Linked DNA regions of Homo sapiens: all the other regions are linked to region 4. Evidence: promoter capture Hi-C in 16 types of primary human blood cells and fetal thymus (Javierre and others, 2016). All regions are on one chromosome and are shown on one strand. The core of a region is centred on a gene start or on the middle of the fragment in contact, and the rest is flanking DNA. Distances in the headings are between cores, read along the strand shown. Region 1 overlaps CCDC62 (coiled-coil domain containing 62). Region 2 overlaps DDX55 (DEAD-box helicase 55). Region 3 holds the start of CCDC62 (coiled-coil domain containing 62). Region 4 holds the start of MPHOSPH9 (M-phase phosphoprotein 9). Region 5 overlaps TMED2 (transmembrane p24 trafficking protein 2). Region 6 overlaps HIP1R (huntingtin interacting protein 1 related). Region 7 holds the start of DENR (density regulated re-initiation and release factor).

Region 1 (2,700 bases), core at 166-2,665, 410 kb before region 4:
TTTCATGTGTAAGAAAGTAGACCTTATTGTACATATAGAAAGTTGGAATTATGCTAAGAATGAAAAAGACTTCTCTGTAAAGATACGGACTACAGTTAAATGCTAGAGAAGCTCTTTAAAAATGTGAATGTCAAATAGAGAAAGAACCCTGCATAGAAAGTGCTGTTTTAACTATCTGATTTTTAAAAAATCTGTGCATACATTTAAATTCTAAACAATAGCTTATCAGAGTCAGCTCAAAATATATGAGAAACAGTATTCTCTCATGGTTTTAGCTTTTGACTTTGCTGTGTAAATAGACATAAGGTGCTTTGATATAAAATATAAAATGTAACTGGAAAATAGCTCGAGGTCCTTCTGTCCCAAGCTGAGCAGAGCCCCATCTTTCTGGGTCTATATTAGTCCCACCTACTGACACAAACAAAAGCTTGCTGGAAGATCGAGTTTTAGACGCATTTTTAAAAATCTTAAAGACTAAAACACTTCCATTTTAACTTGTAAAGTAATTTAATTTTTTAAAGATTATACTATATGCCTCTGTGTCTTCTCTAAAAGAATAGATCAACTTCAGTCCATAAAAGATATTTTTAATATTAAAGAAAAAATATGTTTCCTTGGTTTCTTTTTATTTTACAGGAGTAAAATAAGGAAGGAACGTTCATCACTTTAAACTGAACCTGGCAAGTTAATTTCCTCAGGAATGGGGATGTATTTTTTTAAGCATTGCAGATATCAAAGTTCTATTGTGCTGAATAAATGCCCCTTTGTTAACAGGTCTCAGTGTTACTTCAGAGATGATTTTCATGAGCGGGGAAGAGCCACCTCATTTAGCCTTTTTAATTAGGGTGCTGAAAAGAGAAGTTGGGTGAGGTTTGGTTATGTTCTTTATCAATGCGTGCTTTCTCCCTCAGGCTGGGCTGTCTAGAGCAAAACGGAGAAAGGTATAGTTGCTTCTGAGCTGCTGCCTGCCAAGTAGAAACCTAAAATGACCCTTGGGGAGCGTGACTTCCTATCTAAGAATCAAAATATTAAATTTTCTCCTCCTTTTCATGTTCATGACTGCACATCAACTTGCCTAGTGAAAAGGCAACACTGAATAGATGCTAAATAGGAACATGTCAGGGAACTAAAGGATTTGATAACAATTAAACATTATTTTATGGCTAAATGTATTTTAGCTCATAGGATTATAGTACCTACGACACCTGACACCTATTGTATCCCACCAGCTTATCGTTCCATATGCAATCCAACAATGAGAAATTTCAGCTGGGTGTGGCGGCTTATGCCTGTAATTCCAGCACTTTGGGAGCCTAAGGCAGGTGGATCACTTGAGATCAGAGGTTCGAGACCAGCCTGGCCAACATGACAAAACCCCCTCTCTACTAAAAATACAAAAAATTAGCTGGGCATGGTGTCACGCGCCTGTAATCCCAGCTACTTGGGAGGCTGAGGCAGGAGAATTGCTTGAACCCAGGAGGTGGAGGTTGCAATGAGCCAAGATCGTACCACTGCACTCCAGCTTGGGTGACAGAGTGAGGTCCCGTCTCAAAAAAAAAAAAAAAAAAAAAAAAAGAATGAGAAATTTAATGTTAGCAATGCATCTAGCTCAACCGAAGTTATTTATTTATTTATTTATTTATTTATTTATTTTTTTGAGACAGAGTCTCTCTCTGTCGCCCAGGCTGGAGTGCAGTGGCGTGATCTCAGCTCACTGCAACCTCCGCCTTTCAGGTTCAAGTGATTCTCCTGCCTCAGCCTCCCGAGTAGCTGGGACTACAGGTGTGCGCCACCATGCCCAGCTAAATTTTGTATTTTTAGTAGAGACGGGGTTTCACCATATTGGCAAGGCTGGTCTTGAACTTCTGACCTTGTGATCCACCTTCTCGGCCTCCCAAAGTGCTGGGATTACAGATGTAAGCCACTGCACCTGGCCCAAACTGAGTCATTTAAATGACAGGATTTCGTTTGTTTTTATGGCTAAATAGTATTCCATTATGTATATATATACTACTTTTTTTTTTTTGAGACCGAGTCTCACTCTGTTGCCCAGGCTGGAGTGCAGTGGCTCAATTCCAGCTCACTGCAACCTCCACCTCCCGAGTTCAAGCAATTCTCCTGCCTCAGTCTCCTGAGAAGCTAGGATTACAGGTGCCCACCACCACTCCTGGCTAACTTTTTGTTTTTTTAGTAGAGACGGGGTTTCGTCATGTTGGCCAGGCTGGTGTTGAACTCCTGGCCTAATGTGATCCTCCCAACTCAGCCTCCCAAAGTGCTGGGATTACAGGCGTGAGCCACCACATTTCTTTATCCACTCATCTGTTGATGGGCATTTAGGTTGCTTCCACATCTTGGCTGTTGTGAGCAGTGCTGCAGTGAACGTGGAGTGCAGATACCCCTGACCTAAGCTTTGAGCAATTTCTGTTAGAGAGGCAGTCTCCTTTTTTTTTCTATACTTTAATGGATGCACAGAGGCAGTCTCATAGAGTATTTGAAATAGTTACAAGATAAAACTAGATTTTAGCATTTATGTCTTATCAGCAACATTCTTAAGATCAACACATCTGAAGAGGAGGCAAATGAATTATACTACAATCTGCCTGCCAGAAGTAATCTCAGCATTGGAAAAGACTGATATAAGGGTATTTTTAGAATCTGTGAATGGATTTTTTTTTTAATTTTATTTTTAGTGACAGGGTC
Region 2 (2,700 bases), core at 133-2,632, 380 kb after region 4:
CAGATCCCGTCTCACCACAGCCCTCAGTCTTTCTACCCTGCAGCACTCTTCTACTCTCATGCTCTTCGTTCTCTTCACTAGGGCTTAAATGACTTTGGGGGGATATAAAACTTGGTATTTTGGTAATCATCAACCACATTCCCAAGATCCAGAGAGTTTGGTAAATGTTAACTTTCTTTCCAAAGTGGGAACATCATTGTGGCCACTCCAGGCCGCTTGGAGGACATGTTCCGGAGGAAGGCCGAAGGCTTGGATCTGGCCAGCTGTGTGCGATCCCTGGATGTCCTGGTGTTGGATGAGGCAGACAGACTTCTGGACATGGGGTTTGAGGCAAGGTACTGGACTTTGGACTTCACTGGCTTGAGTGGGCAGATGATACTAATACAAAAGGGGAGCAAAATGGAGTTTACTGTTTCATGACTAGGTATTTTTATTTTTTATTTTCATTTTTATTTATTTTTTATTTATTTGTTTATTAGAGACAGGGTCTTGTGCTGTCACCCAGGCTGGAGTGCAGTGGTGTGATTATGTTCACTGCAGCCTCAACCTCTCGGGCTCAGATGATCCTCCTGCATCAGCCTCCCGGGTAGCTGGGATTACAGGTGCACACCACCATGCCTGGATGGTTTTTTTATTTTTTGCAGATGAGGTTTTGCCATGTTGCCCAGTCTGTTCTCAAACTCCTGGACTTAAGTGATCCTCCTACCTAGGGTACCCAAAGTGCTAGGATTACAGGTGCCAGCCACCATGCCTGGCCTAAGTATTTTTATTAACCACATTTTAATTTCAAATCATTAAGTAGTTTGAGCTTTCAAATTCTACCACGTGATTTTATTCCAGTTCTATCTTTGATCTTAAAATGCACTTTCCTTCAAGTTTTTTTTTTTTTTTTTTTTTTGAGACAGGGTCTCACTCTGTCATCCAGGCTAGAATGCAGTGGCATGATTTCGGGTCATTGCGACCTTTACTTCCTGGGCTTAAGTGATCCTCCCACCTCAGCCTCCTGAGTCATCTGGGACTACAGGCACATGCCATCATGCTTTTTTTTTTTAATTTTTGGCAGAGACAAGATCCCATTATGTTGCCCAGGTTGGTCTCAAACTCCTGGGCTCAAGAGATCTTCCCATCCCAGTCTCCCGAAGTGCTGGGATTACAAGCATGAGCCATCACACCTGGCAGTTTTGTTGTTTTTTAATAAACAGCTTTATGGGATATAATTCACATATCATTATAATTGTATGCTAAAATTTGAGGAACCTTGGAAAAATGAAAGTATAAAGAAGAAACAAAGAATCACCTATAATCTCACCTCCCAGTGTATGTGCTATAAATATTTTGATGGCTTCACTTTCAGTCTTTTTGAATACCTGTTTAGTATCGTGAAGCACTGTGTGTTGATTCTGCTGGCAAGTGAGCGGTTAAGTGTGAGCCCTCTTTTTATCAGCATCAACACCATTCTGGAGTTTTTGCCAAAGCAGAGGAGAACAGGCCTTTTCTCTGCCACTCAGACGCAGGAAGTGGAGAACCTGGTGAGAGCGGGCCTCCGGAACCCTGTCCGGGTCTCAGTGAAGGAGAAGGGCGTGGCAGCCAGCAGTGCCCAGAAGACCCCCTCCCGCCTGGAAAACTACTACATGGTAAGCGCCTGGGCTTGCTTCTTACTCAGCGATAATGACCAGTGCTCATTTTATGGAAATTGTACTGGTAGAATAAATATGTGAGACCCTGTAGCACCTATGAAATGCATTTGGGGACAGAGCTAGCTAGGGCAAATGGCCTGAGTGGTCCTACTCATTGAATGAATAAGTTAAATTGGACATAAATGTATTTTAAGCACAGTCTCTAAGGACAGAGTCTCTGAACCTCCTACCCTCAAGTGACCAAATGTTTCTATTGTACATGCTTGGGGTGTGCTGGGTGCAGCCATGACTAAGCTCTGTAGTTCCTGGGCCCGTCAGAACAGCCTGTCTGACAGAGAAGGGCATAGTTAGATGTGCAGGTGGAACACAGAAAATCAAATGACAGACTCACTCCTAAGGAGACTTTGTGGGGTGGAAATGTTCTGCTCCGTAAATGTTGTGTATTTTTGACCTGCATCAAATATGCTGAGTTTCTTTTTTTTTTTTTTTTTTTTTTTTGAGACAGAGTCTGGCTCTGTCGCCCAGGCTGGAGTGCAGTGGCGCGATCTCAGCTCACTGCAAGCTCCGCCTCCTGGGTTCATGCCATTCTCCTGCCTCAGCCTCCCGAATAGCTGGGACTACAGGCGCCCGCCACCACGCCCGGCTAATTTTTTGTTAGCCCTGTTAGCCAGGATGGTCTCCATCTCCTGACCTGGTGATCCACCTGCCTCGGCCTCCCAAAGTGCTGGGATTACAGGTGTGAGCCACCGCGCCCGGCCGTTTTTTTTTGTTTGTTTTTTTTTGTTTTGAGACGGGGTCTCACCCTGTCACCCAGGCTGGAGTGCAATGGCACGATCTCGGCTCACTGCAACCTCTGCCTCCTGGTTCAAGCAATTCTTCTGCCTCAGTCTCCCGAGTAGCTGGGATTACAGGCATGTGCCACCATGCCCAGCTAATTTTTTGTATCTTTAGTAGAGGTGGGGTTTCACCACATTGGACAGGCTGGTCTTGAACTCCTGACCTCATGATCCTCCTGCCTCAGCCTCCCAAAGTGCTGGGATTACAAGAATGAGCCATCATGCCT
Region 3 (2,700 bases), core at 193-2,692, 460 kb before region 4:
AAGTCAGCCTCGTGAGTAGCTGAGACCACAGGAGTGCACCACCACGCCCAGTTTAAAAAAAAATTTATTTTTTGGCCAGGTGCGGTAGCTCACACCTGTAATCCCAGCACTTTGGGAGGCTGAAGTGGGTGGGTCAACTGAGGTCAGGAGTTCGCGACCAGCCTGGCCAAGGTAGTGAAACCCATCTCTACTAAAAATACAACAAAGGTGGCGTGGTGGCGGGCACCTGTAATCCCAGCTACTCGGGAGGCTGAGGCAGGAGATTTGCTTGAGGCCAGAGGCAGAGTTTGCAGTGAGCCGAGATTGTGCCATTGCACTCCAGCTCAGGCAACAAGAGCCAGACTCCATCTCAAAAAAAAAAAAAAAAAAAGTTTTTTAGAGGTGGGTGTCACCATGTTGCTCAGGCTGGTCTCAAACTCCTGAACGCAACAGATCCTCCTACATTGGCCTCCCAAAGTGCTGGGGTTACAGGCCACTGCGCCCAGCTTTCTTGATTTTAAATTCTAAGACATTGCTTTGGTCTCCCAAACATGAGCCTATCAGTAAAGCTTCAAAATAAGAAATCTTAATTTTGTTTTTCCATTTTCAGATTGTATTTTTTGAACACAAGGGCATGTTTTGGCATTTCATATTCAACCAAAAAGTAAAGTTGAAACCCTGTAAGACCGACCGTATTTAGTAATTGTGTTGCTGTCTGATGGGTTAAGCATTCAGGGATGGGCAGCCGGGGCTGAAGTGTGATAAGCCTTATTTTTTCCTAGTCCCGTTCCCACATCTTAGGAAGAGTGAAAGGGGGATGAAGAGGTGACTATGGAAGAACAGGTGAAAAAGCTTAGATTCAACCCAGAATATCGTAGATTTTGTCATGACAAAGTACCGTGGTTCTCCTCATTGCTTTTCAGGAGCTCCCAAGAGTAAATTTCCCCCTCTTCATCTGTGATTCTTGGTTTAAAGTATCAAAGGTGCTAGGGTAGCCCGCAACTGTTATCCCCGAGGGCTGGGCTCTGCCTCCACGCATTCGAGTGTCAGGTCCTGTTCTGGGAGCCAGCTACACAGGAGCGAGCACGGCCGAGCTCACGGTTATTAGGGGGAAGATGGAAGATAGGGAAGTGAGCAACTCAAATGTCATAAACCAGAGTGCTGGGGGCGGCGCAGCAGCCTTTATTGACTTCTTCATTCTCTGGGTAGTGGTGAACAGCCGGTTCTTTCAGGCCTTCCAGCGCCGGAGCCTCGGGCGTGGGCAAAAAGCGTCCATACGCAGCCTGAGCCACTTGGGAGCCCCCAGTTTCCGAGGCAGAAGAACAGTGCCCACCAGCGCAGCGGGGCTGCGGCCCGGAAACCCTGGCGGGGAGCCCCGAGCCCCGGCGGGCGCACGCCGCGTGGGCACCAGGCAGGCGGTTGGAGTACGGGGCGGGGGTCGGCCGAGGGCGCGGGGCCCCGGGGCTCCGGGCTCGCCCCCGCCGCTCGGGGCAGGCGCGCCGATGGCGTTTCTGAGGTGACGCCGCCCACACCGGGCTTCTCCGGGGGCGGAGGAAACACCTATGAACCCTCCGGCAGCCTTCCTTGCCGGGCGCCAGGTAAGCAGCGGTTCCGGGCGCGGCGGGGCGCCGCGGGAACGGTGCACATTGGTCGAAATCTATTGCTTCTCAAGAACGGTGTCTACTTAAAATGTGAAACAGGCCGGGCGCGGTGGCTCACGCCTGTAATCCCAGCGCTTTGGGAGGCGGAGGCGGGCGGATCACGAGGTCAGGAGATCGAGACCATCCTGGCTAACACAGTGAAACCCCGTCTCTACTAAAAATAAAAAAAAAAAAATTAGCCGGGCGTGGCGGCGGGCGCCTGTAATCCCAGCTACTCGGGAGGCTGAGGCAGGAGAATGGCGTGAACCCGGGAGGCAGAGCTTGCAGTGAGCCGAGATCGCGCCACTGCACTCCAGCCTGGGCGACAGAGCGAGACTCCGTCTCAAAAAAAAAAAAAAAAAAAAAAAGTGAAACAATACACTAGAGGAAAACGGCGTCACGACCGTTTCCTTAACCCAATAACACCTTGTTATTCAGCCCGGGCCACAGAGTAGCGCGTACCCGGTGCTTACTGTTTAAGGAGGACGATTGGCGTCTGGGGAGCTGCTTTCCCATTTACCTCTCAGGGTGTCCTTAATTTACACAACCTGGCGAGTAGAGGAAGGAGCTCTCACAACTCCACTGTACCAAAAAGTCTGGAAGTGGGCTTGCCCAAGGTTCGCGTCCATCAGTGTAAGACGACCTGCCTTTGTGTACTCGGCTTACTGCCTGTTTTCCTGGAGTGGAATATGTGCTCCTTGCCTGGAGGTCTGTGGCCCAGCCACTGGCGCTCAATAAATTATTTGTTGAGTGCATGAATGAAGGGCTAACCCAACACTGGAATTCAAGCCTTGGGACTTGAAATCCCTTGACTCCAAATTCCATTTTCCTTGTTAAGACTAGCAACTGTAATTTATTCATCATTCTTATTTATTTATTTTTGAGACAGGGTCTGGCTCTGTCCCCAGGGCTGGAGTACAGTGACGCAATGTCGGCTTACTGCAGCCTCTGCTTCCCGAGTTCAAGCAATCCTCCCGCCTCAGCCTCCCAAATAGCTGGGACTACAGGCTCCCACCACCATGCCGAGCTAATTTTTGTGTTTTTAGTAGAGACAGGGTTTCGCCATGTTGGCCAGGCTGGT
Region 4 (2,700 bases), core at 92-2,591:
AGATGCCTCCTTCCTGGGGAATTCATGCACTTATAAAAGAGCAAGGGAGCAAGAGGAAAAAGGAGAAAGAAAGAAAACTTCAGCTGCTTACAAACTGAAAAGCTTAGAGAGTGCAACAGGAATATTATCTAGTATTCCGCTTCTGCTAGATTCCCACTTTCTAGGGCCTGCTTTTATAAAGCATTACACAAAAACAGGGACCATTTCCTTCAGGGACAGGAGTGAATGCAAAGGGTAACCGGACCTAACTAAATGGACTTTTCCCCAGTGGCTCAGCCCATCACCCACGACAAATGGGGCATTGAAACAGTCAAGGACTGCCCCTTCCAACTGGCAACAGAAATACCTGGATTCCAATCACCATGCTATTACACCAGGAAAACACAAGCTCTCCAGGGAGATGAACCTGCAACCCCATCTATTATTTCCCCTGCTAAGGTAATCCGGATCCGGATGCAGATCCAGATGGAAAACCACTAGAAATTCAAAGATGCTTCTCCATTTGGGGTGGAGGTGCTGGGGGGAGGGCAGGGAAGTAAGAGGGAAAAATCCTTAAACACCCACAAATACAATGCAAAAAAAAATTTTTTTAACTTGATACAGAATGAATATAAGAGCAGAGCTTTTATATTTCCCAGCAACAAGATATGACGCTTTTGGTGTCCCTACCCCCTAGCAAAAAAAGGGAGCTGGGGAAAAGGAACGATTGATGGTTATGAAACATGAAAGTTAACTGGGCGCTCCGCCTTGACGGGAGGCTTGGGGGAGAGGAAGAGATTTCAGATGGGGATGAGGCCAGATCCCGACATTCTGAGCTCACAGTCAGCCCGCAATGGCTGGTGGCGGCTATCGGGTCAAAGTGGGAAGGAGAGGGAGAATCTATGCAGTCGCCTAAGCTACGGAAAGCAGGGAGGACGGAGAAAAGCCACCGCTCCTGCAACTACAACCGCGATTCCAAAAGGAAACCGGGGCACCTTGGCAAAAAATGGGGGGAAAAATTAAAAAAACCCCACAAACCCCCCGCCCCTCAGGAAGAGCGATCTGCGATTGGGCCGCGCGAGTGTCACTCAAGGGCGCCGAGTCTAGAAAAGGCGCACCGCGGCCGGGCAGAGCTCCCACACGCCGAAGGGCTCCGAGGGGGTCAGGCCAATCGGCAGCCGTCACCCCACACCCCAGCCCATCACCACACTCAAGGGGCCGCTAAGACAGTGTCTCCTAAGTCTCGTCTCCTGTCCCCAGCGGCCTACAGCTCCCTGCAGGCTGGTGGCCGCTTACCTGGCCGCCGCTCCCGCTGCCGATGTCAGGGTCATGCAAGCGGCCTCTCGCGACCGTTACCCGAGGGAGCGCGCGCGCGCCCGGCGTCTCTCCAGTGATTGGCTGCCCGGAAGGAGGCGGAGACAGCCTCGCATGGCGCGCGCGTCCACCTCGCCGTTCCCCCTCGCGCAGCTCCAACCAAAGAGAGACATCCAACCCCGGGGGAGTGACAAGGGGGCGGGATTGCTGTGAAACTCTCTTCTCTGATTGGCTCTCTGGGAGCCAGCCGCTGCCACGAGGGAAAGAAGCTTCAGTTTCTCGCATGCGCAGTGAGTAAACATGAGCCTCTGGTAGATAAGAGAAACCGCGATCGGAGTACGGCGCGTGCGCAGATCAGGGATCGCGATTGCGAATCCTCCGCTGAGGTGATTTGGATATCCCTAGAACGTTGAGGGCACGAGTCGGGTCCTGAGACCAGGTAAGCATCTGCGGAGAAGCCAGGTAACCCTACGGCTGCCGACGACTGTCAAAGGCTCCGGAGAGAGGACTGCGAGCCGGGACGCCTGGGTTTTTCCCGACTTGCGACCCCGAGTGGCGCAGCCAGTTTACCTGAGGCCGCGCTGGCGGTGGGGTGGGGCCGGCCGTGACACCCGAGCTCAGTTTTCTCGGGACCTGGTTTACGCTAGGTGCTGTGGGTCGGCCCTGGGGCTGTTCAGGCACTCAGGGCAGGGGAGAGGAGAGACTACCGTCCTGGAGATAACGGTTCCACGGAGGCCCAAGGCGAAACGGAAGGATCCTCATGTACAAAACTGAGCGGAATGGAGCTGTGAGCACGCATCAGGTGCTGTTTCAGGCCTGGCACGTAGTAGAGGTCAGCACTGCCCTTGCTAGGCTTTTGCGGAGATACTCGTTTTTTTTTTAATAGACGTGGGGTGGGGGGGTCTCACTGTGTTGCCCAAGCTGATCTCGAACTCCTGGCCTCAAGCGATCCTCCTTCCTCGGCCTCCCAAAGTGCTGGGATCACAGGCGCAAGCCACCCAGCCCTACTTTTGAAGGACCAAAGGGAACTCGCTCTCCTCCCCGTGGGACCCCAGCCCATTTCATGCGCACTGTGCAGGCCACATTCTTCAGCATAGTTAACCTTTAAGGTCTTTCCAGCTACTCGATTTACCTCCAGGAGTTCTGGCTCACAGTAAAGGGACTTCCCTGGCACTATCACTTAGGCCTCCACAACCCAGGAAATGGATCTGCCCTTGGAATAACAGATCTGCCAGGAGGCGTTACATCTCATTGGAGCTTCCTAAGTATACCTACCAATTTTTTTTTACTTTTTTTATTTTTGTGGGGGAGGGGGGTAGGGGGGACAAGGTCTCTCTCTGTCACCCAGGCTGGAGGGCAGTGGCGCGATCTCGGCTCACTTTAACCTCTGCCTCCCGGGTTCAAGTG
Region 5 (2,700 bases), core at 115-2,614, 360 kb after region 4:
GGAATTTTAGGTTACAGTGAGCTATAATTGCACCACTGTACTTGAGCCTGGGTGATAGAGTGAGATCCTGTCTTGAAAAAAAAAAAAGATGGCTGGGTGCAGTGGCTCACGCATGTAATTCCAGCATTTTGGGAGGCTCAAGCAGGTGGATCACCTGAGGTCAGGAGTTCAAGACCAGCCTGACCAACATGGTGAAACCCCGTCTCTACTAAAAATACAAAAATTAGCTGGGTGTGGCAGCGTGTGCCTGTAATCCCAGCTACTCTGGAGGCTGAGGCAGGAGAATCGCTTCAGCCTGGGAGGCAGAGGTTGCAGTGAGCTGAGATTGAGCACCACTGCACTCCAGCCTGGGCAACAGAGCGAGACTCTGTCTCAAAAAAAAAAAAAAAAAGACATTGACAAATGTGTTTTGTTTTCAAATCCTTCTATAGCTCACCAGAACAAGCTAGAAGAAATGATCAATGAGCTAGCAGTGGCGATGACAGCTGTAAAGCACGAACAGGAATACATGGAAGTCCGGGAGAGAATACACAGAGCCAGTAAGTGAATGCCGTCACTTTGCAGCAGTGTCTGATGGTGAAGGTTGTTTTACTCAACAGCTTGCTCGTATTTTCCTCATTTGGAAACTTTGCAAATTTTATGTGAAAGCATTGACTTTAAAAGTGTACCTACACGAGATATTTTTTGAGCATACACATGTGTGGAGCTTTGTAGTTTATTATTGGGACATTCATTGTAAACTAGAAAATGCTATTAAGATTTAGTACAAGTTTTTAAGAGTTTAGTTTTCTGGCCGGGCATGGTGGCTCACGCCTGTAATCCCAGCACTTTGGGAGGCTGAGGCAGGCGGATCACCTGAGGTTGGGAGTTCGAGACCAGCCTGGCCAACATGGTGAAACCTCGTCTCTACAAAAAATAAAAAAATTAGCTGGGTGTGGTGGCGTGCACCTATAGTCCCAGCTACTCGGGAGGCTGAGGCATGAGAATCACTTGAACCGGGAGGCAGAGGTTGCAGTGAGCTGAGATTGGGCCACTGCACTCCAGCCTGGGCAATGGAGCTAGACTCTGTCTCAGGGAAAAAAAAAAAAAAAAGTTTGGGTTTTTAAAAATGTATGGTGAGCTAAGGAATAAGCTAATTGTTTTCTTAAATCAGAAGGGAAAAATGTTGTAAAATGCGTATTGCATTGGTTTTTAATCACATACCTGAAACTTATGTACCAGTGGGATTAATATTAGATGCTGAGATTTAACCTTTTTACTAAAATGGAAAGCTTAATATAGTTAGACTAGAAAACACCAAAACATGAGTACAGGGAAGTCACCAGGTGAAGATCAGTTTGGGTCCTCAAGTTTGTAAGTTGGGAATTTGGAATGTATTTTGCTGTGGAAACAGTGATGATTGAAATCTTGTGTTAGGTTGCAAAAGTCTGTTTAGAACTGGATAGAGCATTAAAAATGAAGCTTTTGCATTTAAAATTAAGAGGTACTATATTGACAGACAGACCAATTCCATTGATTAGGTTCAGGGCCACACCATTGTTCAGTGTTTTCATCCTCCAGGTAGTTCTTGGGGAGATGAAAAGAGCAAGGTGGCTGGGGGCAGTGGCTCACGCCTGTAATCCTAGCACTTTGGGAGGCTGAGGTGGGCGGATCACAAGGTCAAGAGACTGAGACCATCCTGGCCAACATGGTGAAATCCCACCTCTACTAAAACTACAAAAATTAGCCGGGCATGGTGGCACGCGCCTGTAGTCCCAGCTACTCAGGAGGCTGAGGCAGGAGAATCACTTGAACCCCGGAGGCGGAGGTTGCAGTGAGCTGATATCATGCCATTGCACTCCGGCCTGGCGACAGAGCGAGACTCTGTCTGAAAAAAAAAAAGGAAAAAGAGCAAGGTATAGTGACGCATCTCTGTAGTCCCAGCTACTCAGGAGGCTGAGGCGGGGGATTGCTTGGGAGCAAGCTCTTGTCTTAAGGGCAGTGATTTTATGTCAGGAATCTTTGTTCTGAGACTGGAGTAGGAAGTGAAGAGTGACTCAAAGAGATAAGCACAGCTTGAATTTCTTCCAGATGTGCTTTCTGTTTTTCCTACCCTTAAATCTGTTCTTGCTACTTATGGAAACAAATCTTCAGGATCTAGAGCACAGACATCAGCTTGTGTTGGCAGGAAGGTGTGTAAATGTAATAGCCTGGAGAACTCCCCTCATCCCCACTTGTTTTAGGAGTGGAGTGGGGCATATTATGGACCAAGGCTTGTCTACAATTACTCCAGCCTCTTGCCTCACAATTTTGTCTCCTTGCCTCCACTCTTAATCTCACCAGCTGGGATCTTCACTTTTTCTCTCTTATCTTGTTGGGACTCATATGTTGTTTACCTTGTTCCCAGATGGGGAAACAGCCCATTCTGGAGTTGGAAGGGCACTGAACTAACTCAGAGGGCAAGTTCCTCTACTTTGCAATTTTAACTGGTTCAGACCAGATGGCTTTCAAGTTATAGAAGTTCTTGGGAACACAGTGGCCAGAGGAAGCACATGTCTTCCGTCTTTAGGGTGTCCAACCTTGTTCTCTCACCCATGATTTGAGTGGAGATACTCCTGTATTTGTTTCACAAATAGTGAGCTATGTGTTCATATTTAAAAGTGTTAGCAATTTCTAGAATTGAGTTTATAGGCATTCAGTTTAAATTTACAAAGCAAATGG
Region 6 (2,700 bases), core at 155-2,654, 380 kb before region 4:
TGTGCCGGGGTCACAAGTTCCCTCACTGAGCCCGGGGAGGAGGGTCCTGTGCAGCTTGGCTCCTTCCCATCTCAGTCTCATCACAAAAACGCCCCCATTGGGCCCAATGATTTCCTTGTCTTGCCCTAACTCCTGTCCCCTTGGCTGGACACTGGAGCTCTGGTGACCCGGGGTTGATGGGCACGTGATTGGGGGCCGGCCCTCTTCCGGCGGCCCTGGCCTCTCTCAGCCGGGTTTGCTGAGCCCCCGTGCTCCAGTCTCTGCTTCCACACTTGGCCTTGACATTGCAGGCATCATTCTGGGCACACACCACGAGAAGGGGGCTTTCACCTTCTGGTCCTACGCCATTGGGCTGCCGCTGCCCAGCAGCTCCATTCTCAGCTGGAAGTTCTGCCACGTCCTCCACAAGGTCCTTCGAGACGGGCACCCCAATGTGAGTAGCAGCTGCTGCCTCTGCTCCCCGGAGCTGGGGCACTGTCCCGCGGACATGCGGGCTCTGGCCCTGTTCCTGTCCCCGTAGCTCCGGGCTGTTCCTCCCGCCTCGGGTGGGGAGTGCGTGTCTCAGGGCCCTGCCACACGGTCCTGGACACTCCCCCACTCCCGTATTCCCTGCGCTGCAGGTGCTGCATGACTGCCAGCGGTACCGCAGCAACATCCGGGAGATTGGAGACCTGTGGGTAGGTCCAGCCATTCTAGGTCCTGCCTGGCATTCGGGGCTTTCCTGAGCGTGTGGGGCTGAGCGAAGGGTGGCTCCCTGTGGGCAGTTCCCTGCGGGTGGCTGGGTTTTCCCAGGGGCGACAGTGGGAGGGGCAGCACGGGGAGATGCTGCCTGCCTTTGAGGGCCTGGCCCAGGGCGCTCCACACGCATAACCAGTGGGCCCTCCAGCGTCGAAGTCACCCGGGCCCTTTAGTCCTCACGAGTTGGGAAATGTGGCAAGACCACAGCCCGGGCACCTCGGTGGTTAGAGAGCCTGTGGCAGGGCGCAGGTTCCTGGGCTCCCCCAGACCTGCTGCTGAAGAATCAGGACTGGAGGTCTGCATTTTGAGCACACACACAGTAAGGCCTGAGAGCCCTGGGGGGCCTGCAATCTGGATGCACTGCAAGACCTCAGGAGTTAGAGATGTCCCTGGTGGGCAGAGGGCCTTGGCCTGGTTCTCTCTGGAGCACTGTGGGGTGCTCGTCTGCCTGGGCAGGGACATAGGAGCAGGGCAGGCCCTGGACCGGGTACCCACAGGGAGGCCTGACCAGGGCGTTATCCAACCCAGAACCACTGCCCGGACTCACTTCCCTTGAAGCGAGGAAAACACTGCCCATGGTGCCACCTGCAGATGCAGGCCCAGCTGGCCCGGCCGCAGGGGCCGTGGGGCTGGAGGAGGGAGCAGGGAGGATGTGTCCAGGCGCCCGTCGGGACGTGCCTCCCTGCCAGCACCAGCACTTTAATAAAGCGTCCCTGCTCAGAACTGGCCTGCCGCCCTGGACAAAGAGCTCTCTTCTCACAAGAGTTTCTTTGGCAGGAATGACAAGGAGGAAGATTAAGGGAAAAAGCTAGAGACAGAGAGGGTGGTTGGTGGAGGCCAGGAGAAGACGTTTGTTGAATGAAGAAGTGCCCGGTGGTGGGTCACTCTCGTGCCCAGGTCCTTGAGGACTCTTGGACGTGTTCACGAGCCGTGGCCCCTCACCCTGTCTGTCTTCACACAGGGACATTTGCATGACCGCTACGGACAGCTGGTGAATGTCTACACCAAGCTGCTGCTGACCAAGATCTCCTTCCACCTCAAGGTGGTTTCCTCGGGGGAGTCATGGGGCTGAGGGACCCGTGGGCTTTTCCCACTGTGACGTTATGGCACATGTTGGGACATCGAGGGTGGGATCTGTCCTCTCCATGAGTCTTTCCATTCACCTTCTTGTCCCAACTATGACTAAAGGGGAGACGGGGAAGCCAGGGCATCACGAAGCTCCTAGAACACTTCAGGCATTTCCGTGGACGTGGGCACGGGCTTCCCCAGGCGTTTCTGTGGACATGAGCGCTGGGCTTCCTCAGTCTCTGCTGTGCTGGCCGGGTGCTCCCCTCCTCCCAACCCCTCCACTGCCCTCTGCCACCTATGTGGGCCACAGCCTGGGTCTGCCAAGAGCAGGGTCCAGCGTGGGGCCCCCTGGTTCAGTGGCCGCTGGGTTGGGGGGGCCCTGGTTCAGTGGCCGCTGGGTGGGGGGGGCCCTGGTTCGGTGGCCGCTGGGTTGGGGGGCCCCCTGGTTCGGTGGCTGCTGGGTGGGGGGGCCCTGGTTCGGTGGCCGCTGGGTGGGGGGGGCCCTGGTTCGGTGGCCGCTGGGTGGGGGGGGCCCTGGTTCGGTGGCCGCTGGGTGGGGGGGCCCCCTGGTTCGGTGGCTGCTGGGTGGGGGGGCCCTGGTTCGGTGGCCGCTGGGTGGGGGGGGCCCTGGTTCGGTGGCCACTGGGTGGGGGGGGCCCTGGTTCGGTGGCCGCTGGGTGGGGGGGCCCCCTGGTTCGGTGGCCGCTGGGTTGGGGGGCCCTGGTTCGGTGGCCGCTGGGTGTGGGGGGCCCTGGTTCAGTGGCCGCTGGGTGGGGGGGAGCCCTGGTTCGGTGGCCGCCAGGTGTGGGGGGGCCCTGGTTCAGTGGCCGCTGGGTGGGGGTTCTCTCCACAGCATCCCCAGTTTCCCGCGGGCCTGGAGGTGACAGATGAGGT
Region 7 (2,700 bases), core at 189-2,688, 480 kb before region 4:
TTTACTAATCCTCCTGAGCACAGACCCTTTACAGGTGTCGGGCTGTGGAATGGTCAGGTCTTTCCCTTCCCACGAGGCCATATTTCAGACTATCACATGAGGAGAAACCTTGGACAATACCTGGCTTTCCTAGGAAGAGGTCCCTGCGGCCTTCTGCAGTGTATTGTGTCTCTGGGTACTTGAGATTAGGGAGTGGTGATGATTCTTAAGGCGCATGCTGCCTTCAAGCATTTGTTTAACAAAGCACATCCTGCACAGCCCTTAATCCATTTAACCCTCAGTTGACACAGCACAGGTCTCAGGAAGCACAGGGTTGGTGGTAGGGTTACAGATTAACAGCATCTCAAGGCAGAAGAATTTTTCTTAGCACAGAACAAAATGGAGTCTCTTATGTCTACTTCTTTCTACACAGACACAGTAACAATCTGATCTTTCTTTTCCCCATATATTCCCATACTCTTACATTTTTCTTTTTTTCATTAAAAAAAATTGTAGGCCGGGCGCGGTGGCTCACGCCTGTAATCCCAGCACTTTGGGAGGCGGAGGCGGGAGGATCCCTTGAGTCCGGGAGTTCGAGACCAGCCTGGACAGCATAGGGAGATTCCCCCACCTCTATAAACAAATTAAAAATTAGCTGGGTGTGGTAACGCGCGCCTGTATTCCCAACTACTTGGGAGGTCGAGGCTGCAGTGAACCGTGTTTGTGCAACTGCACTCCATCCAGCCTAGGTGACAGAGTGAGACCCTGTCAAAACATAAAGAAAAGGATGAAGGAAGGGAGGGAGGAAGGAAGGAAGGGAGGGAGGAAGGAAGGAAAGAAGGAAGGAAGGGAGGGAGGGAGGGAAGGGGAAGAAAGAGACAGAAAGAAGAGAAAGAAGAAAGAAAAGAAAGAACAGAAAAGAAAGAAAAAAGAATTCCTTTAATTTAGTGTATGGTGTTAAAACGCAACCAAACGCTCCATCCGGCGAAGAGAGAGAGAAAAGAAGAGAGGAAGGAAAGAAGGAAGGGAGGGAGGGAGGGAGGGAGAACACCTTCCTTTAATTCAGTGCATGGTGTTAAAATGCGACCAAACGCTCTATCCGGCTGCAATCTCCCCGCACGGGAGTGATTTATGCAGTAGCTGGAGGTTAGTCAGGACTCCAGGATGCACCGCAGACACCGAGGCGATGATCCTCGGACTCATTAATAGGGAGTCATTTGTGACTCAGGTGCGCTCTCTGCGTCTGCAAGTCACGTTCCCTTCGGCACGCCCATCTCGAGGATTCATCCTCTCCAACGGGTGACGAGCACCGCCTGCCGGCGGCCCGCCTCTCGGCCTCTTGGCCACGCCCCCCACCGGAGGGCAAGGCGCACGCTCCGCAATTTTTCTCCGCCCCCGTCTTCCGGCTTCTCGCGACATCCGCCCAGCGGCGGCCGGAATCTCGCGATAAAGGCTCATTGTCTCGCGGGAGCGCTGCTGGCGGTCGGGCGCTCGGGCGGCCCTGGCCGGGGAGACGAGTTGCATGTGTTGGTTCAGCTGGCGATAGCGGCGGGAGCGGAGCCGGCGGGGCCTGTGCGACCGCCTGGGTAACGACCCCAAGTGCTTCTCCCGCTCCCGAGAAGCTCGTAGAGAGTGTGGGGGAAGCTGAGATGCTGCCTGGCGGAAGGGGGCCGGGCCGGGCCTCTCCACACCCCCGCCCACAAGGGCCCCTTCTGGCGTCCCCGGGGTTGCTCCTTCGCCTCAGACCTGGTCGCCCTTGTCCCCTCAGTGCTCTTACATTCTGCGCTCGTTTTCTCTCCTCATCCTTCTTACGCTCTGGTTACCCCGCCCCCTCCCATGCCCTTTTTAGACTCCCCAGGCCCCTCTCATGGCGTTTAGTTGCCCCCACACCCTGCACCCCGGGCTTCTCCGATGACCCACCCCTTGTTCCTAGGCACTTCCAGCCTCTCTCCATTCGGCGCCTTTGTAGCCCTTCTCTCACTGCAGTTTGCATCCCTCCCAGATCACCCTCAGACCTTTTTGCTCCGTGTCTGCCGTGGGTACTCACCCCATCTTTCCTTCCCCATTGCTTCCTGTTTTTCTCTAGTGAGTCCCTCTGCCCCATCCTTCATGGTCCATTTGCTGCTTGCTTCCCTGTAGACCTGTGGAGCAAGGAGATGTTGTGCCTGGGATTGCTCATATTTTATGAATCGAATGCAGCTTGTATCCCCCACTCAACAACAGACTTGAAACAGCTTTGGGGTGGGGAGGTTTCTGTTGAGAGGAACACTGCTCTTCTGGGGTCTTGATTCTAAAATAGTGAGGGTGTGTTATTTTCCTTGCTTACAGGTTTGTGAAATGGCTGCTGACATTTCTGAATCCAGCGGGGCTGACTGCAAAGGAGACCCAAGGAACAGTGCCAAGTTAGATGCCGATTACCCACTTCGAGTCCTTTATTGTGGAGGCAAGTGTTGGTAGCCACAGAATGACTTTTACTCACTATACTTTTATGCATTGTAATAACAGTTTGACATTTGGTAAGCTTTCTTCCCCATCCTTTTCATTTGGTGAGTTTGTACTGGGGGAGAGGAGTCCTGGGGAGGAGGAGGCATGAATTAACAGAGTTTCCCCACCTGGGTGATTTGTGTCTGGCTACTCTGCCTGAAGAAGCTTACAGTCCATTTGTAACAGGATGTGCAACTAGGTTATTTCAGCCTGAAGGTCCTCAAGGTGTATGCTAGT

What was found. The method cuts DNA at HindIII sites, captures the fragments that hold promoters and counts their contacts. A CHiCAGO score of 5 or more calls a contact.
Region 1: a fragment that was not itself captured here is called in contact with the fragment with the promoter of MPHOSPH9 in region 4 in 2 of 17 cell types (M2 macrophages and endothelial precursors); the score reaches 5.8 in M2 macrophages.
Region 2: a fragment that was not itself captured here is called in contact with the fragment with the promoter of MPHOSPH9 in region 4 in 1 of 17 cell types (naive CD4 T cells); the score reaches 5.0 in naive CD4 T cells.
Region 3: the fragment with the promoter of CCDC62 here is called in contact with the fragment with the promoter of MPHOSPH9 in region 4 in 3 of 17 cell types (naive B cells, naive CD4 T cells and M2 macrophages); the score reaches 6.4 in naive B cells.
Region 5: a fragment that was not itself captured here is called in contact with the fragment with the promoter of MPHOSPH9 in region 4 in 11 of 17 cell types (erythroblasts, megakaryocytes, naive CD4 T cells and 8 more); the score reaches 9.5 in erythroblasts.
Region 6: a fragment that was not itself captured here is called in contact with the fragment with the promoter of MPHOSPH9 in region 4 in 1 of 17 cell types (endothelial precursors); the score reaches 6.0 in endothelial precursors.
Region 7: a contact is called between the fragment with the promoter of DENR here and the fragment with the promoter of MPHOSPH9 in region 4, in 2 of 17 cell types (M1 macrophages and naive B cells). The highest score is 5.2, in M1 macrophages.

The regions. Positions count from the first base shown.
Region 1 is chr12:122,826,610-122,829,309 of GRCh38, forward strand. It overlaps CCDC62 (coiled-coil domain containing 62), which reads left to right. Exons shown (of 13, transcript NM_201435.5): 13 at 1-919. Among named protein-coding and RNA genes, the nearest start is that of HIP1R, 7.5 kb to the right of the region's middle. The HindIII fragment of the contact is 1,981 bases long and covers 426-2,406 here.
Region 2 is chr12:123,608,495-123,611,194 of GRCh38, forward strand. DDX55 (DEAD-box helicase 55) reads left to right here. Exons shown (of 14, transcript NM_020936.3): 6 at 186-335; 7 at 1,445-1,634. Among named protein-coding and RNA genes, the nearest start is that of SNORA9B, 6.9 kb to the right of the region's middle. The HindIII fragment of the contact is 3,225 bases long and covers 1-2,700 here.
Region 3 is chr12:122,773,130-122,775,829 of GRCh38, forward strand. It overlaps CCDC62 (coiled-coil domain containing 62), which reads left to right and starts at 1,443. Exons shown (of 13, transcript NM_201435.5): 1 at 1,443-1,577. The coding sequence starts at 1,542. RefSeq lists silencers at 1,281-1,490, 2,013-2,307 and enhancers at 1,590-2,283, 1,671-1,810. The HindIII fragment of the contact is 6,061 bases long and covers 830-2,700 here.
Region 4 is chr12:123,231,800-123,234,499 of GRCh38, forward strand. MPHOSPH9 (M-phase phosphoprotein 9) reads right to left here and starts at 1,342. Exons shown (of 24, transcript NM_022782.4): 1 at 1,276-1,342. It overlaps MTRFR (mitochondrial translation release factor in rescue), which reads left to right and starts at 1,637. Exons shown (of 3, transcript NM_152269.5): 1 at 1,637-1,732. RefSeq lists an enhancer at 1,115-1,354. The HindIII fragment of the contact is 1,460 bases long and covers 101-1,560 here.
Region 5 is chr12:123,589,911-123,592,610 of GRCh38, forward strand. It overlaps TMED2 (transmembrane p24 trafficking protein 2), which reads left to right. Exons shown (of 4, transcript NM_006815.4): 3 at 432-539. Among named protein-coding and RNA genes, the nearest start is that of TMED2, 6.7 kb to the left of the region's middle. The HindIII fragment of the contact is 190 bases long and covers 1,270-1,459 here.
Region 6 is chr12:122,848,176-122,850,875 of GRCh38, forward strand. It overlaps HIP1R (huntingtin interacting protein 1 related), which reads left to right. Exons shown (of 32, transcript NM_003959.3): 3 at 291-433; 4 at 621-677; 5 at 1,700-1,780; 6 at 2,660-2,700. Among named protein-coding and RNA genes, the nearest start is that of HIP1R, 14 kb to the left of the region's middle. The HindIII fragment of the contact is 3,405 bases long and covers 1-2,700 here.
Region 7 is chr12:122,751,386-122,754,085 of GRCh38, forward strand. DENR (density regulated re-initiation and release factor) reads left to right here and starts at 1,439. Exons shown (of 8, transcript NM_003677.5): 1 at 1,439-1,565; 2 at 2,308-2,422. The coding sequence starts at 2,317. RefSeq lists enhancers at 1-796, 1,888-1,947 and a silencer at 1,698-1,747. The HindIII fragment of the contact is 18,243 bases long and covers 1-2,498 here.